Regions from separate parts of the Homo sapiens genome. Here region 1 is linked to region 2. The links are contacts of gene promoters, found by promoter capture Hi-C in human tissues and cell types (Jung and others, 2019). All regions are on one chromosome and are shown on one strand. The core of a region is centred on a gene start or on the middle of the fragment in contact, and the rest is flanking DNA. Distances in the headings are between cores, read along the strand shown. Region 1 overlaps TM9SF4 (transmembrane 9 superfamily member 4). Region 2 holds the start of FOXS1 (forkhead box S1).

The links. Contacts are between HindIII fragments. The study calls those that stand out against the background at their distance.
Region 1: a contact is called between a fragment that was not itself captured here and the fragment with the promoter of FOXS1 in region 2, in 1 of the 25 tissues and cell types used here (aorta).

Annotation. Positions count from the first base shown.
Region 1 is chr20:32,116,181-32,119,726 of GRCh38, reverse strand. The region is part of intron 1 of TM9SF4 (transmembrane 9 superfamily member 4); the gene reads right to left. Among named protein-coding and RNA genes, the nearest start is that of TM9SF4, 8.2 kb to the right of the region's middle. The HindIII fragment of the contact is 3,788 bases long and covers 1-3,440 here.
Region 2 is chr20:31,843,555-31,847,223 of GRCh38, reverse strand. It overlaps FOXS1 (forkhead box S1), which reads left to right and starts at 1,620. Exons shown (of 1, transcript NM_004118.4): 1 at 1,620-2,921. The coding sequence starts at 1,682. The coding sequence ends at 2,674. It also overlaps a transcript of DUSP15 not described here. RefSeq lists an enhancer at 1,679-2,236. The HindIII fragment of the contact is 12,044 bases long and covers 1-3,669 here.

The DNA.
Region 1 (3,546 bases), core at 297-2,796, 270 kb before region 2:
ACAACACCAAAACCAGAATCCATTAAAAAAATTATAATAAATTAAATTTCATAAAAATTTAAAAACTTTTACACTTCCAAAGATACCACTAAGAAAATGAAAAGATGGGCCAAAGACTAGTGGAAAATTCTTTGCAAATCACATACCTGATAAGGAACTTATATCCAGAATATACAAAGAACACTTAATAAGAAAATGACAATCCGATTTAAAAATGGACAAGAGATTTGTACAGAAATTCACCAAAGAAGATATATGAATGACTAATAAGCATAAAATATATTTAATATCATTTGTCAATAGGAAAACGCAAACCAAAACCACAGTGAGGTACCACCACACACCCACTAGAATCTGCTTGCCTCGGCCTCCCAAAGTGCTGGGATTACAGGCATGAGCCACGGTGCCCAGCCCTAATTTTTGTATTTTTAATAGAGACTGGGTTTCATCATGTTGCCCAGGATGGTCTTGAACTCCTGGGCTCAAGCGATCCACCTGCCTCAGCTTCCCAAAGTGCTGACATTACAAGCATGAGCCACCAAATCTGGCCAAATAAACCTCTTTTCTTTATAAATTACTCAGCCTCAGGTATTCCTTTATGAGCAACACAGTCTCCCAAAATGCTGGGATTACAGGTGTGAGCCACTGCGCCTGATCCATTTTATAGCTTTTTAAAGACTGACAAGTAAAAATTGAATATATTTATGGTAGGCACACAACATAATGTTTTGATACTTTTATAGCTTTTTAATACTCTTTTCCACATACATGGATCACCCTTATTAAAAATAAATACATTTACGGGCAGAGTAGCTCAGGACTATAATCCCAGCACTTTGTAAGGCCGAGGCAGGTGGATCGCTTGAGCCCAAGAGTTTGAGACCAGCCTGAGCAAAACCTCGTCTCTACAAAGAATACAAAAAATTAATGAGGAATGGTGGTGCTTGCCTGTAGTCACAGCTACTCTGGAGGCTGAGGTGGGAGGATCACTTGAGCCTGGGAGGTGGAGGTTGCAGTGAGCAGAAATCACGCCACTGCACTCCAGCTTGGGCAACAGAGTGAGACCTTGTCTCAAAATAAAAATAAATAAATAAATAAATAAATAAATAAATAAATAAATAAATACAACAAAATAAATACATTTAGGCTGGGCATAGTAGCTAATACCTATAATTACGTGGGAGGATCACCTGAGCCCAGGAGTCCGACGGCTGCAGTTAGAGTGAGCTATGATTCCACCACTGCACTCCAACCTGGGTGACAGGGTGAGACCCTGTCTCTAAAAAAATTAAAAAATTAAAGACATATATTCATTTATATTTTAAGAAGTGAAGGAAATGGGTTGCCTCTGAAAATACTGGGATGAGTTCCACAGAAGATGTGCAGAAAGTGGGCTAAGGTAAGAATTATGCAGAGCGGATTCTGGCACCAGGTATGTGGGTAAGCAGACAGATCAGCAATTTTTAATCTTGGGGAGGGTGTCACAAATCCCTCTGAGAAACTTATCAAAGCTACAGATACTGATCTCGGAAAAAATATTCCAATACACAGAGAATCAAGGACTAGAAGTTCATGGGTTTCTGGTAAAACCCCTGGACACTGTTCCAACTTTTTATGATTCTATGACTTCATCACCTTCTATATTCCTGATAGCCTGATAGAGGATGTTTGGCCTGCAGTTCTTTTCTGTAAGGAAAAAGCAAAGTACCTGCTTCTTAGGAAATTCCTTTAAATTTTCTTTTAATTTTTAATTGATTGCCTCATTAACTCCCATGAGAGGTTCAGTCTGAAAAGTCAATTAAATATTTAGTAATCATCTTCTGCATGTTCAGAGCCATGCAAAGAGTCCTAAGAGATGTGAACCAGCCCATTCAACGTCATTTTGCTTTTGCTACTTGGTTTCCAAGTAGCAAAAGAGACCTCAAAGGCAGCATATCAAGGAACAAGGTGATGGCAATCTAGAAGCCTTTTGTGCTGTAATCTAACACGCCATCACTGGCAAAGATACAGGTGACCTGGAATGTTATAAAGCTCAAGAGAACCAAGAATCAAGGTCTTTCCCTCCCCATCTGTTTTATTCTTGGGGGGGCGGGGGTGGGTTGGGCACTCAGAAATATCTCCCCCAAACAGCTGTCTAATGAAGGGCTGCTAGGACTCAAAAGTACCCCCAGCCACTCCAAATTCACCCCACCCAGTTTGAAAGGTGTGAACAATTAACATCTTCCAAAGAAAACAGGAAGTTTCCCTGAGAACGAAAAATTATTTCATTCACTTGCATTTCTCTGTAACCAGAAGTTAACTTTTTCTGGAGCCCTCTGCCTTGCAATCTCCTTTCCCATAAATAGCATCAACTAGCAGCAATACATCTGGCCAATCTGAACGGCCTTTTTGGTTCCTGTTCCATGCCTTTCCTACTGCAAAAGCAGCATTTTCCTTAGCAATAGACTAGATTCTTCTTTTTCTTTCTAAAAGACAGTCACTTTTTTTTTTTTTTTTTTTTTTTGAGACAGAGTCTAGCTCTGTTGCCCAGGCTAGAGTGCAGTGATATGATCTTGGCTCACTGCAACCTCCGCCTCCTGGGTTCAAGTGATTCTCCTGCCTCAGCCTCCTGAGTGGCTGGGATGACAGGTGCCTGCCACCAGACCCGGCAATTTTTTTGTATTTTTGTAGAGACAGGGTTTCGCCATGTTGGCCAGGCTGGTCTTGAGCTCCTGACCTCAAATGACCCACTCCGACCTCGGCATTTCCCAAAGTGCTGGGATTACAGGTGTAAGCCACTGTGCCTGGCGACAGTCACCATTTTGAGACCATGTCAGTAACTGCTCCCTCAGATTAAGCAAAAAAAAAAAAAAAAAAAAAAAAAAGAAAAAGGAAAAAGGAGGAAAAAAAAAAAAAAGAAAAAGGCTTTGGGCACAGTTTGCCAACAGTTAACTGAAGTCAATTATCCAGTCAGTTAAAGCTTACCAAGAATCCAGCCGCATGTGAATGAAGGCTAATGACAGCTAGAGACAACTTACCAAGCAGGCCCATGGAACTAAAGAACTCACAGAGCAAGAAACAAACAAACAAACAAACAAAAAACAAATTAGCCACAGGAAACTGAAAATGTAGCCTTTATTTCAGAGCCCACAGACACAGAGTAGCTGTTGAACAGAGACACATGAAAGACTCAAAGCTGTAATTTGGGGGTAGGGAAAAACGCACAGCAGGCTGCACTGCGGAAGTCCAGGTGAAACTAATAACCACCCTCACGAAGCAACAGGCAACCAGACTTCAACCCTGACACCACCAAGTGCAGAAACGTACTGCTCTCCTGTCTCCACCTTGGGTATTTATAAAAGAACTCTCAGCTAGCCCAAGCAGCAGGCTTAGATAGCTCACCACGGGAAGACTTCAAACCTTGGAGTAAAGTTACAGAGTGCCCTCTCTGTGCTAGCACTTTCATCTCATATTTCATTTAATCATCACAACAATCCCTTGAGAATATCATCCTTGTTTCAAAAATGAGATGATGAAAAAGTTCTGGAGACGGATAGTGCTAACAGC
Region 2 (3,669 bases), core at 371-2,870:
GGAATTTACTTACCTTCTCTGAGCCTCAGAGCCCTCATCTATTCAAAAGAAGCAATGAAGCCCTCCAGAGCAGGGTTGGTTGAAGAAGTAAGTGTAGGGTTGGGGAGGTGAGCTGGCCTGGTACAGAGTGGGTGAGCAGTGACTTGGGAGTGGGAGAGCAGAGAGGATGCCGTCCCCTCCTCCAGAAGGCCTGACTGTTCTGGGCCTGACTCTCTGGACCTCCCGACCCCAGGCTGCAGCTGGGGTAGCCTCAGTTCAGAGTGACAATCCGCAGCCATGTTCATATCCCTACTCCATACTAGGCTCTTGATGAGGGTGCTGCATTCTGTGTAAGGGGAACCTGTTGCCTCCCCACCATGGCCTGGACAGCTGAGGAGTCACCAGCTCCATGTTAGAGATGGGGAAACTGAGGCTCAGCCAAGGTCTTGAGGTGCCTCTTGGGAGGGAGAATGTCTCTCCCCAGATAGCTGTCCTTCCCACACCAGTCACTAGGGGGCGACAGGGATGCAGCAGAACTGAATTTCATGGGCTCTCCTTACCATCCTAGGTGCCCCTCCCTGCAGACACCCCAGAGCTAGGAGGATGGGGTAGGAGTGGTGTGGCCCCAAGGCCTCTGCACCGCAGGAGAAGGCAGTAGACCACAGGCCTGGGAGAAGAGGGAAAAGCAGGAGTAGAGGTAGGGATTAGAGAAGCCCCTGGGGCTTCTCTCACTCTAGGGGGACTGGGCTCAGGCCCTGCCTCTCTCTCCTCTCTCTCTCTCTCTCTCTCTCTCTCTCTCTCTATTCATTCCTTTCACTCCTTGTGTTTGCACCTGTGTCTCTCAGTATCTCCTTTCTCTCTGGCTTTGTGGATTTCCTTGTTTCTGCCTGCTCAGTGATTCTCACTTTCTCCGTATACTACGTGTGTGTGTGTGTGTGTGTGTGTGTGTGTCTGTGTCTGTGTCTCTGTGTTTCTGTGTGTGTATGTCTCTGTGTGTCTGTGTATGTGCTTGTGTGTGTGTCTGTGTGTATGCCTATGTGTCTGTGTGTGTCTGTCTCTGTGTATATGTGTGTGTGTGCTTATGTCTGTGTGTGTGTGTCTGTGTGTGTGTCTGTGTCTGTGTGTCTCTGTGTGTCTGTACGTGTATGTCTGTGTGTCTCTGTGTGTCTGTACGTGTATGTCTGTGTGTCTCTCTGTGAGTGTCTGAGAGGCTCTGGGTGTCTCTGTCCGTTGTGTCTGCCTCTGTCTTATCTTTGTCTCTCCCTCTTTCTCCCTCTTGTGATGTCTCTACCTCTCTCTGTCTCTATCTCTTTTTTCCCTGTCTCTGTTTCATATGTTTCTGCCTCTGTCTCATTTTGTTTTTGTCTCTGTCCCGCTCAGTTTCACATCCTGTCCCTCCCCAGCCACCACCACCCAGCACACGTGGGCTGAGGGTCTCAGTCCCTTCCTTCCCAACTCCTCATCCCTGGCAGCTGCTCGGCTTCCCACTACTGGCCTCTCCTGCCCGCCTCTTTTGGGCCTTGTGGGAGTGGGGCGAGGGAGGAGGGGAGGATGGCTCAGCAGACCCACCCCTTTTTGCCTTTCCAGGCTGGGAGGCTGGGCCAGTGGACCTTTTAACCAGCCTGGGCAGGCTATTCCGGACGCCAGCCCTGGAAGCTGAGCCTGACCCAGCAGGTCCCAGCAGCCTGGCAGCCCGGCCAGCATGCAGCAGCAGCCTCTGCCCGGGCCTGGCGCCCCCACAACTGAGCCAACCAAGCCTCCCTACAGCTACATCGCCCTTATTGCTATGGCCATCCAGAGCTCACCGGGGCAGCGGGCCACCCTCAGTGGCATCTACCGCTACATCATGGGCCGATTCGCCTTCTACCGCCACAACCGGCCCGGCTGGCAGAACAGCATCCGCCACAACCTGTCACTCAACGAGTGCTTTGTCAAGGTGCCCCGCGATGACCGCAAGCCAGGCAAGGGCAGCTACTGGACGCTGGACCCTGACTGCCACGACATGTTTGAGCACGGCAGCTTCCTACGCCGCCGCCGCCGCTTCACCCGGCAGACAGGTGCTGAGGGCACCCGGGGCCCCGCCAAGGCACGCCGTGGACCCCTCAGGGCGACCAGCCAGGACCCAGGAGTCCCCAACGCCACGACCGGCAGGCAGTGCTCATTCCCACCAGAGCTGCCAGATCCCAAGGGCCTAAGCTTTGGGGGTCTGGTGGGGGCCATGCCAGCCAGTATGTGCCCAGCAACCACTGATGGCAGGCCTCGGCCACCCATGGAGCCCAAAGAGATTTCCACGCCCAAGCCTGCATGCCCAGGGGAGCTCCCCGTGGCCACCTCATCTTCCTCATGCCCAGCGTTTGGCTTTCCTGCCGGCTTCTCAGAGGCTGAGAGTTTTAATAAGGCCCCTACGCCCGTCTTGTCCCCGGAATCAGGCATCGGGAGCAGCTACCAGTGTCGGCTGCAGGCACTGAATTTTTGCATGGGGGCTGACCCAGGCCTTGAGCACCTCTTGGCCTCAGCAGCCCCCTCCCCTGCACCACCCACCCCTCCAGGCTCACTCCGGGCCCCACTGCCCCTGCCAACTGACCACAAGGAACCCTGGGTTGCAGGTGGCTTCCCTGTCCAGGGAGGCTCCGGCTACCCATTGGGGCTGACCCCCTGCCTATACCGGACGCCAGGAATGTTCTTCTTTGAGTAAAGGCAGCCTCACCTCGGGCAGTCCCTGCAGGTCCCTCACCCTCCGGGCTGAGCCTGGCTCTAGGACCTGAAGAACTCTCGAAGGACCCAGCCCTGGTGAGCCAAGGACAACCACACAGAAAGCCAGGATTGAAGCGGTGCTCAGCCAGGCCCCTGGGGCCTCCGGACAAACTTGGGGGTGAGGGGAAGCAGGGCCTCTTGGGATTTACTCTGTGGCTCTCAGGGCCAATAAAGCCATGTGATGATGAGGGTCAGCTTGCCTGATGGCTGGGGGCTGAGGGCCAGGGTGCCTGCTTGTATGTGGGGGTGGCTGTGGCTGTGGGGTTGTGCAGCGGGGGCAGAGACCCTTGGTGGGAATATCTCACATGAGGTTTTCTCCTGCTGGGGACTTTCTCAGGGAGTTTCCTAGAAAGGGAGAGGAAGGGGAGGTAGGGAATGGGGAGCAGGGAGAGGAGGATACAGGCAAGGGAGAGACTGGGCAGGGGCAAGACTGGGCTGGCCTGAGGGACTGATTCTCCAGTCTCAGATGCTGGGACTTAGCCCCCGTAGGTGCAGTCATCATAACCCTGACAATTTGTGACACTGATCCTGTCCCGGGCTTGTATGTATCATCTCACCTGTGTGATTTGGAAAGTTGGCCCCGTTTACAGTGGTGGAAACAGGCTCGCCAGCTCCAACTCCAGAGGGCAAATGGGTGGCAGAGGGTAAATCAAAACCACATCTGTGTGGCTCTACCCTCCAGCCTCTGACCTGCAGCTTGAGTGAGGACATAAGGGTGGAGAAGAGGGTCAGGGCAGAGCTGGTGGTGGCCCCCAGAGGTGGGAGGGCTTTGCTGCAATCCTGGAAGGCCAGGGCTAGAAAGGCACCCTTTACCCATTGTGCAGACAGGGCACCTAGGGTTCAAAAGGCAGCACCTACCCCCTGTTTGGACTTCCCACATTAATGTGGGAGCTTCCCTGAGCCCCCAGCTCCATGAGGTCCTCTGGTGACTCTTTA